Regions from separate parts of the Homo sapiens genome. Here all the other regions are linked to region 2. The links are contacts of gene promoters, found by promoter capture Hi-C in blood cells and fetal thymus (Javierre and others, 2016). All regions are on one chromosome and are shown on one strand. The core of a region is centred on a gene start or on the middle of the fragment in contact, and the rest is flanking DNA. Distances in the headings are between cores, read along the strand shown. Region 1 overlaps TRAPPC12 (trafficking protein particle complex subunit 12). Region 2 holds the start of ALLC (allantoicase). Region 3 overlaps TRAPPC12 (trafficking protein particle complex subunit 12).

Region 1 (3,380 bases), core at 250-2,749, 260 kb after region 2:
TTAGAACGATCTTTAGACGGTGCTGAAGAACACTGGACGTGGAATCTGAAGCATGCCACTTGCTTTAAAGGGAAGACACAGAAGGGCAAGGGGAGGGAGAACAGGTGCTTTTGTGTGGCCTGGGGACAGAAGAGATGTGCCAATGACCTGCCCTGAGCAGGGAGCAATCTCACAGCTAGTGTCAAGCCCAGATGCTGGGCGAGCCAGCCTTCATGACCCTCGGGAGTCGGCACAGTTCAGGGGCCCCAGGGAAGGGCCTGAAGTTACCAAGTCTGTTGTATGGGGACAAACTAGTCATCCCAACAGTGCAGAGAAAACTGTCACAGTCCACAGGCCTCAGTGCTGTTTCGGTGGCTGCACCGCAGGCCGAGGGAGAGTCCAGGGTAAGTAAAGGCTGCTCACAGGACACGATGCTCTCCACGGGCGGCAGGAGACGCCTCTCACACACAGCTGGGACCAGGACACAGCCCTGGACCATCTCTCTCCTTTCTGGGGGTGCTGCTGACTGAGGAAAGGCACCTGGGAAGGGGCAGCAGCACTGAGGTCCCTGAAACACCTGAGGCAGGGGCAGCTGGGGGGATAGAGCAGCCCAGGGGGAAAGGGAAGCAGCGCTGAGGTCCCTGAAACGCCAGAGACAGTGAGTATCCTGGGAGGAGGAAGCAGTGGCTCTGAGGTCCCTGAAACGCCAGAGACAGTGAGTATCCTGGGAGGAGGAAGCAGTGGCTCTGAGGTCCCTGAAACGCCAGAGACAGTGAGCATCCTGGGAGGAGGAAGCAGTGGCTCTGAGGTCCCTGAAATGCCAGAGACAGTGAGCATCCTGGGAGGAGGAAGCAGTGGCTCTGAGGTCCCTGAAATGCCTGGAGACAGCAAGCAGCCGGAGCTGGCTGGATCTTCCCTGACACGTGCTCTGGGCGTCTGGCCCGCAGCAGCTGCTGACAGGGACACAGCACAAAGTCCCTGCAGTCTCTCGGGTGAGCAGAAGAAAGACTCAAACTAGGACAACCCCAAGATGGGGGGTGGAGAAAGCCAAGATCTCTCCATCTCAGCACAAAGCTGCCTCCCAGCCACAGAGAAGCTGATGCTCATGCTGCAGGCGGGCCACTGGGAGCACGCAGTGACTGAGGGTGCAGAGAAGCCTGCGTGCCCCCTGCCTGGACTTCACCGCTGGCTCAGATCTCTTCCTATTGTTCTCCTACCCTTTTTTTTTTGGCGGCGGGGCGGTGGCGGGGGGAGCGGGGGAAAGAAAAGCATAGAAGTTGTTTCTCCTAAGAAGCAAGGTTATTTCAATCTTTTGCTATCTTTCAAAATAGTGACACTTAAAAGAAGAACAGAATCTAGACCATGAGAGCAAGAGAATCAGAAAAGCTGCTGACATTGCTTCTCTGCTCTGCTGCCTCCCTTCTACCAGGAGAGATCAACAGCCTGCGGCAGAAGGGGCTGGGTGGCTCCAGGTCATAGGTCTGTCTCTTCCCTGGGTGCTAAACCTGGTGCTCGCAGAGGCCAGCCTCACGTTTTCTCACATTGAGGAAAAGACCTAGGGGCAGCAGTTGTATAATTTCTGCTTTCAGAGCATAAGGTGAAGTACTTCAAATACCAGATCCACAAAATCAGCTAACTGATCTAGCAGCAATAATTAAAAGGCAAAATAAAAGAGTTCAGACACAGGGCCCCATAAAGCTCTGCAAAAATGCAACTCGTCTCAGACAAAGAGCATCTCAGCCAGGGGGGCAGCGAGCTGGGTAAAGAGCAAAATCAAATTGTAATGCCAGGGACGGAGGGCCAATTCAACTCCTCCATCCCCACAACATTATCAATGAGACCATGCTGTGAAAATCTCTTGTCCTTAAAATTCTCTGTTAGTTAATATTTTAGCTACCACAGCAAGTTCCTGAGATACTAGCATATGCATGACTATCAAATATCCCACCAACAGAGGGCCAAGGATGTGACAAGCGTCTTAGGACAAACCTCGCCCTTGCTGTGTGGCTAACTGAAGGTGGTGACAGCGCAGGGAGGTGGAGACGCTTGTACTGCATCTCCTCTAGCCGTTACTGTGCAGGGGAGGTGGGAGGGGGAGGGAACTTCCCCCAGGGCTTTCTAGAGAGCTGTGCTACTACACCTGGGATGGAATCCAGCTAGAACCAATGATTCCTTCAGACCAGCAAGCCATTCAGTGAGGGTCTACTTTATCCAGGGCAAGGTTCAGGGAACACGAAGGAAACACATGAATATATCACAATCTGGGACTCATCGTGATGTCGCCACCCCATTCTCCTGGTCAGGTGCATTTATGGAGGAGCAAGTGGCTGTTCTCACGGCTGACAGGCGGTTAGGGCCTGGCTGCCTTTCCTGCAATGGGGGAATAGTCTCAGTAGTCCCTTCTTGATTTTGATGGTGAAAGACAAAACAGAAGCCAGAGCAGTGGACTGAAAGCGTATGGGCCTTACTGTCTGGGAAGCCCAAAGACACAAATGCTCACGGGGTAGCGCTGCTGAAAGGCAGCAGCCCCTGCACCTGGCACAGAACACGCTGAGCTTTCTGCCACATCGCCAATGCAGAAAGGTGCCTGTTTATCCTGGCAGGGTCTATCCTCTGATCCAGTGTTTGCTTACTCCAGGGAAAAATGAGACCACCTGAACAAAAAAACCACAACAATTAAAACCCAAACCCAAACTCAAGGATGTGGAGCAACTGGAACCCTCACACACCACATCATTGGTGGGGAGTCAACATGGAATAGCCATTTTAGAAAACTGTCTGGCGGGGCCTCAAAATGTTGAACAGAGTTACCACAGAATCCAGCAAGTCCACACCTAGCTATACATCCCAGATCACTGAGAACACATAGACACAAACGCCTGTGTGTGAATGTTCACAGTAGCATTACTCACAACAGCCAAAAGGTAGAAACAGCCCAAATGTCCACCAACTGATGAATGAATAAAAAGCAGCAGTAATTTGCTTCTGTCCATTTCAGGGTAACTGGGACTGGACTGTCTTGATGTGAACAACTGCAACATTGCTCAGAAGAAATCTAACAACTGTCTTCAGACACAGCAAAGGACTGTGACCCAACAGAAGGAAAACATGAGTTGAACTCTTGAACCCAATGGCACTTTTTGGACCACATTGCAGGAGGAGAATCCCAAGCAGGGTTTGGGACATCAAGGAGGTTAAGGCGGGTGGGCTGATGAGCTTGAGACTGTACTCAAATATGCTTTCCCAACATTCTTATTTTGCTAAATTATTAACAACAATGGGAGACAGAGAAAGTGTGAGAGTGTATGTGTCAGAAAGAATATACATTATCTCTATATAATAAGTTCCACCTACATAATCCTTTGTGGTTTATTCTAAAAACCCAGCTACAATTTATAACA
Region 2 (3,412 bases), core at 896-3,395:
CTGCAGGCGGTACAGAAAGCACGGCGCTAGCATATGCTTCCAGCGAGGGCCTCAGGCTGCTTCCACTCCTGGTAGGAAGTGAAGGGAGCCGGCGTGCAGCCACCACAGGGCAGAAGAGGAAGCGTGGGAGGGACGCCAGGCTCCTCCTAACAAGCAGCTCTCACCAGACTAACAGAGGAAGAACCGTCTCACCACCTCCAGAACGGCACCAAGCCATTCATGAGGGATCCGCCCCCATAACCCAGACTCCTCCCGCTGGGCCCCACCTCCAACACGGGGGATCTGATTGCACCATGAGGTTTGGGGGGACAAACATCCAAACCATAGCACCCCACAACCTCAAAGGCTGTTATGTGAAAAGTCTCCCCACCCCTAAGATAAAAAAATGTGAGAAAGGAGAGACCGTTTAAAGCTGGGCCTCCAGGCCACAGCACAGGCCCAACCAGTGTCTGCTGTGAAAGGGCCGTGACATTTGTCTTTCCTAAGTTTCTCTCCTCAGCCACAAATCCCAGAAGTATCCACAGTGGCCTGTGCTGTGCAGGGCCCCGTGGAGGTTCCCGAGAGATTCCAGGCAGCCAAGAGCTGGCGGTATAAGGGGCCGTTCTCAGCCCTGGTGGAGGTCACAGCTCCACGACTCTTGCGCCATGAGCTTGCTGAGCTCTCTGCTCACTGGTCCCTGCCGTTTCTGTTGATAAAATAGCCAAGGTCTAGGCAAGAAAGGAAGGAGCCACGCGACCTCGGCTGAGGCCACCAGCTCAGCAGCTCACAGTGCTCAGACAGCCTGTGGCAGCTGCTTCTAAGCTCATTGCTGCAACCCCTCCCACTGCCTGCTCAAGGGAGCTCTTAAATACATTTTCTGCTGTGGCTGAGACCAGACCCAGGGTCAGCTCTGATGTTTGAGGAACATGCTAAAGTTTTACCTGCAAATTTCAACTTAATCACCGCAAATGAGGAGCATTGTCATGGGTTACGGCAAGGCGATGAGGCAATGACTCTCTAAAATAGAGTCATGAAATTTCAGGCAGTCAAGTGGTGCTCACACTATTTTTTCTTTTGAGATTAGCCTTAAAATAAGAAAAGGCATGACCAGGCAAGTCTAGGAAGCACAAGAAAGAGAGACCTCCCTCTGACAAGCAGGGAAGGCTGTGCTGATGGAAGAGTTACTCCCTCGTAAAGAAGAAAACCTTCAGGGGCTTTGTCATCGCTGTCAATAAGTTCCGAAGAAGCCTTTGGCCAAAAGTATGAGATTTATGGTGAAATAATAAAAGTGGTTTGTTCAAATTTGGGACAAAATTAGAGTGACCTTGAGCAGGGACTCTGAGCAGCCCAAGGTCAACTGCACGAGACTCCTGACTACCGGCAACTCTTGGTATATATTTACATTTAGTTCTACTTTGTGACTCTTGTTTTGAATATAGGTTTACTTCACCATGGCCTTAGTTGTTTAGGTTTTTTTTTTTTTTTTTTTGAGACAGGGTCTCACTCTGTCATCCAGGCTGGAGTACAGTGGCATGATCTTGGCTCATTGCAACCTCCACCCCAATCCCATCCCGGGCTCAAGCAATTCTCCCATGTCAGCCTCCCAAGTAGCTGGGACCACAGGCACGCACCACCATGCCTGGCTATTTTTTTGATTTTTGGTAGAAATGGGGTCTTGCCATGTTGTTCAGGCTGGTCTCAAACTCCTCAACTCAAGCAATCCACCCACCTCGGCCTCCCAAAGTACAGGGATTACAGGCATGAGCCACCATGCCCAGCCTCTTTAGATTTTTTTTTAAGAAGGCCAAAGTCACATGATTTGAAACCAAACAGAGCAGTGACCAGAGCCCAGAAGCCTGACCCACCTGTGGGGCCCCTCCAGGTGTTTGGGCCACGCCCGGTACCAACACAGTTCAACGGCACAAAGTGGTGTCTGTCACCATCTACCCTCTGTCACCTTCCAAGTGTCGAGGGTTCGTTGCATGACTGAAATTCATCTCTGTCACCCTATTCTTTTGGCAAAGCCCACCTTAAAGATAGCAAGGTATTTATAAACCACACTCCAGCTCACCCAGCAGTCAGAAATCAAGTATTCATAAATGGATCTCTTGCTCCCCAGAAGCCAGCCAAGGTCCCACGGTGCTTGAGTGCCAGCTCAGAGAGAATGTATAGGGGCCTGAGGTAGAGACAGAACTTTGCAGAGATTGGCTGTGCCTGTATGATGTCACAAGGGTTGCAGAGAGGTGGAAGTAACAGGGGGAGCAGCCCCTCCCCGGAGAAGCCAAGCAGGCCTCTGCAAGACCCTCGCACAAGGCCCGAAGCCAGACATGGTCCCTGCTGGTCCCAGGGCCCTTCCCTGTCCCTAACAAAGCTGCCTCCGGCCACTGGCCTGGGCCTGAAACCCCCACCTTCCTGGTCCGGCCAGTAACCTGACTTAAAGTTTTATCTCTAGACGTCACCTATTCACTAATCATCATTAACTCAGAAAACACTGAGCACACCCAGCAGTGGGTCCTGACCTACTAGAGAAGACAGGGGCCCTTGGGAGGGTTTGGCTAGAGCCCCTCAGCCCCAGAAAAAGTAAATACACACAAAATTTTCATGGAATTTAAAGAAGCCCACAGATGCTTAAGAAAGGGCACCTTGCCAAGTGGATGCTAGGCCTGTGGCATACAAAACAACACGTGCCGCCTGCCTTCAAAGGCCCCACTGTCTGCAGAAGAACTTTCCATGCAGAAAGAAACAGCTGAGCCCGGCTTCGACATGCAGTAACAGACGTTGCCTTGCTTCACCACAGCCACCCTGCGGGGCAAGCTATCCACTCTGCAGATGAATCAGCTGGGGCCTTGAAGGCAGGAAAGCCACCCGAGGTCACCTGCGCAGGGAGGGACTGAGCTGGAACCAGAACCCAGCACAGCAGATGGCGCGCACAGGGGCCCTTGGGGCTCCAGAAAGACAACCTGCGTCCCAGGGAGATCCATCACCCACACGCTCCTTTTTCCTTCCTGGGTTTTCTTTCCCCAGGGCCTGACCGGCCTTCTCCTCCTGAACTCCAGCTTTCCCAGAGGAAAGCAAAGCCATTTGAAAGGCCGGCTCAAGGCCACCTCCAACTGAGAACCCCACCCCCAACCCCAGCCCGTCTCTCAGCCCCGCCACCCAGCCGTAGTTAGGATGCGTCCAGCGCCTGTTGTCTGATCTCAGCTCGCCCGGCCTTTGAGTCCATGTTTACACATCTGTCTGCCCATCCAGATGAAATTCTTTAAGAACGAAACCACATCCTATGCTGCCTTCCATAGCTGACTGTATTTTAATGAATTAATGCACGTGGCTTCGTCCCTGGCAGTTCTTGTCAGCCGTGACTTCCCCGCCACAGCAGTGCAGTGCCCCCGCTCGCCGCCTCGGATCAGTCACAAAGCTCACGGTGCGGAGAACA
Region 3 (3,188 bases), core at 645-3,144, 270 kb after region 2:
TTTCATTAATACCTGCAAACCACTTTTGAGAAGAGAAGAAAATAAAAAAATAAATTTTATTCTTAAGTAAATACCAAAGTAATAAAAAGCCCTAATAATTTAGGGCAAGGATGATCACTTTTGCTTTCACACAAATAAAATCTAGATGCAGGAAAATGCTTGTAAGTAAGGATCTGAGGGTTTCTTCTCTAGAAAATCAAGAGGAATGCTCAAATAAAAATGATATAAAACGTGATTTAGATGATGCTTTTATGAATGGGAAGACATACATATATTATAAAGCTACATCTATATAAATTATATACATAAGATTTTGTGAGAATGGACATATAATTTGTAGCAAAATAGCTTCTTCACTTCAAGGGTTTCCTTACTCTAATCTTATTCCAATGTAAGGTTCAAATGCAAAGCAGACACTAGTAATAACCATGTATATATGACGAGATAGTTCTATAACCATAAAAAAAGTATAACCAGTAGTTAAGTCTTCCTACAAAGAAAATATAGGGTCCAGAGGGTTTACCAGTGAATTCTACCAAAGATTCCGTACAGATAATTCCTACAGTACAAAAATTCTTGCAGAGAAGAAAAAAGACACATGACCCAATTCACTTTATAAGGCTAATATAACCTTGAGACCAAAATTTGACAAGGCCATACTAAAAGGGAAGCTATCATCTCACTCATGAACACACATGCAAAAATCTTGAAATATTAGCTAACTGAATCAGCAATGTATTTATTTTCTACCAAACTCAGGTAATCCCAGAAATGTACTGTTGGTTTAATGCGATAGATTAAATAAAAGTACATGACTATCTCAATAGATGCACAAGAAAGTATCTAATAAAATTCAGCATCTGCTCAAGATAAAACCTGTCAGCAAACTAGCAACAGAAAGTAACTTCCTTAATGCAATCAAAGGTATCTACCAAAAACCTAAAGGAAACCTCAAATTAACAGTGAAACGTTTAAAGCATTCTCTTTAAAAGTAGAAAAAAGATAAAGATGTCCTCTTCAACATTTTTATGCTGCCTAATACTGGAGTCCTCGGGCAGGATTAAGGCAAGAAAAATAACTAAAAGCTACAATAAAAACTGAAAAGAAAAAAATACAAACCTTCATTCTTCGTGTATGATTATTTATGTAGAATACATCAAAAATCTATGGTATAAAGACTGAAATATTGGGCCAGGCACGGTGGTTCAGGCCTGTAATCCTAGCAATTTGGGAGGCCGAGGAGGGTGGATCACCTGAGGTCAGAAGTTCAAGACCAGCCTGGTCAACATGGTGAAACACTGTCTCTACTAAATATACAAAAATTAGCCAGGTGTGGTGGAGGGCGCCTGTAATCCCAGCTACTTGGGATACTGAGGCAGGAAAATCACTTGAACCCAGGAGGCGGAGGTTGCAGTGAGCCGAGATCGCACCACTGTGCTCCAGCCTGGGCAACAGCAGCGAAACTTCATCTCAAAAAAAAAAAAAAAAAAAAAAAAAAAAAAAAAAAAAAAAACAAGACTGAACTATCACAAGGGAATATGTAGCACACATCAAAGGAAGAGACGATTTTCCTTGAGTGATGTGTAGACAAATCATGCAGCTGGGAAAAAATAAACTTGGAATCTTGTCTCACCACAGACACAGTATCAATCTCAGGGACGTTAAAAACTTAACTGTGAAGGCCGGGTGCGGTGGCTCACGCCTGTAATCCCAGCACTTTCGGAGGCCGGGGCGGGCGTATCACGAGGTCAGGAGTTCAAGATGAGCCTGGCCGACATGGTAAAACCCCGTCTCTACTAAAAATACAAAAATTAGCCAGGTGTGGTGGCGGGCACCTGTAATCCCAGCTACTCTGCTACTCGGGAGGCTGAGGCAGGAGAATCGCTTGAACCCAGGAGGCAGAGGTTGTAGTGAGCCAAGATTGAGGCACGACATTCCAGCCTGGGTGACAGAGAAAGACTCCGTCTCGGGCGGGGCGGGGGTGGGGGATCAAAAATTAACTGTGAAAGGCAAAACTTCAAAACTTTCAGAAGAAAATATAAGAGAATATATTTTCAGAGTAGGCAAAGCCTCTTAAACTAGGCATAATCAGTACAAACCATAAAGGGAAAATGGATACATCTGCTATATTAAAATGGAAAGTTCTATCATTAAAAACCTAAAAAAAGTGAAACAAACAAATGTAACTGAGAAAGGATTAACACGAAGAATACATAAAGAATCCCTACAAATTAATAAAAGCACACTAAATGATCCATTAGAAAAATAAGCAACAGAGCTGAAAGAGGTATACCTTTGAACATCCATGTTGAGAAACCACTTGGTATTATCTAGTAAAGTTTAAAAAGCACATTATCTTATCACTTTGATAACTATACATCTTGATTTTTCCCAGAACAATTCAATTTTTCACCCATGGTTTAAGTTATTTCTATTATTTTATTAGTATTATTATTTTATGAGACATAGTCTGGCTCTGTCACCCTGGCGGGAGTGCAATGGGACGATGATGGCTTACTGCAGCCTCGATCTTCTGGGCTCAAGCCCATCCTCCTGCCTCAGCCTCTGGAGTAGCTGGGACTACAGGTGTGCACCACCACACTCAGCTATTTTTGTATTTTTTGTAGAGATGGGGACTCAATATGTTGGCCAGGCTGGTCTCAAACTTCTGAGCTCAAGTGATCCTCCTGCCTTGGCCTCCCAAAGTGCTGAGATTACAGGCGTGAGCCACGTGCTTCGCCTCAGTAAAATCATTAAGTGTCTCCTTTCACTCTTAAAGGAGTCTTGGTTGAGACAATAAATATGTGGTCGTAGTACCTAGGACCTAGCAATTCCACTGCTAGATACCTATCATGGAGGAATTCCTGTACATGAGCAGTGTAAGCTATGATGCTGAATTTCATAAATAACACATCAAAATACCTTTCTTCTAAAGTCCTAAAAGAAAAAGTAGGCTGGGCGTGGTGGCTCACATCTGTAATCCTAGCACTTTGGGAGGCCGAGGCAGGCGGACCACGAGGTCAGGAGATCAAGACCATACCGGCTAACATAGTGAAATGCTGTCTCTATTAAAATACAAAAAATTAGCCAGGCATGGTGGCGGGCGCCTGTAGTCTCAGCTACTTGGGAGGCTGAGGCAGCAGAATCACTTGAACCCAGGAGGCGGAGGTTGCAGTGAGCCAAGATCG

The links. The method cuts DNA at HindIII sites, captures the fragments that hold promoters and counts their contacts. A CHiCAGO score of 5 or more calls a contact.
Region 1: a contact is called between a fragment that was not itself captured here and the fragment with the promoter of ALLC in region 2, in 3 of 17 cell types (non-activated CD4 T cells, total CD4 T cells and activated CD4 T cells). The highest score is 6.2, in non-activated CD4 T cells.
Region 3: a contact is called between a fragment that was not itself captured here and the fragment with the promoter of ALLC in region 2, in 2 of 17 cell types (fetal thymus and naive CD4 T cells). The highest score is 6.5, in fetal thymus.

Annotation. Positions count from the first base shown.
Region 1 is chr2:3,397,660-3,401,039 of GRCh38, reverse strand. The region is part of intron 2 of TRAPPC12 (trafficking protein particle complex subunit 12); the gene reads right to left. Among named protein-coding and RNA genes, the nearest start is that of TRAPPC12, 20 kb to the right of the region's middle. RefSeq lists enhancers at 1-142, 143-1,068, 1,069-1,994. The HindIII fragment of the contact is 5,455 bases long and covers 1-3,380 here.
Region 2 is chr2:3,656,933-3,660,344 of GRCh38, reverse strand. It overlaps ALLC (allantoicase), which reads right to left and starts at 2,145. Exons shown (of 12, transcript NM_018436.4): 1 at 2,051-2,145. RefSeq lists a silencer at 1-276. The HindIII fragment of the contact is 6,896 bases long and covers 1-3,412 here.
Region 3 is chr2:3,382,197-3,385,384 of GRCh38, reverse strand. The region is part of intron 1 of TRAPPC12 (trafficking protein particle complex subunit 12); the gene reads right to left. Among named protein-coding and RNA genes, the nearest start is that of TRAPPC12, 4.1 kb to the right of the region's middle. The HindIII fragment of the contact is 3,902 bases long and covers 1-3,188 here.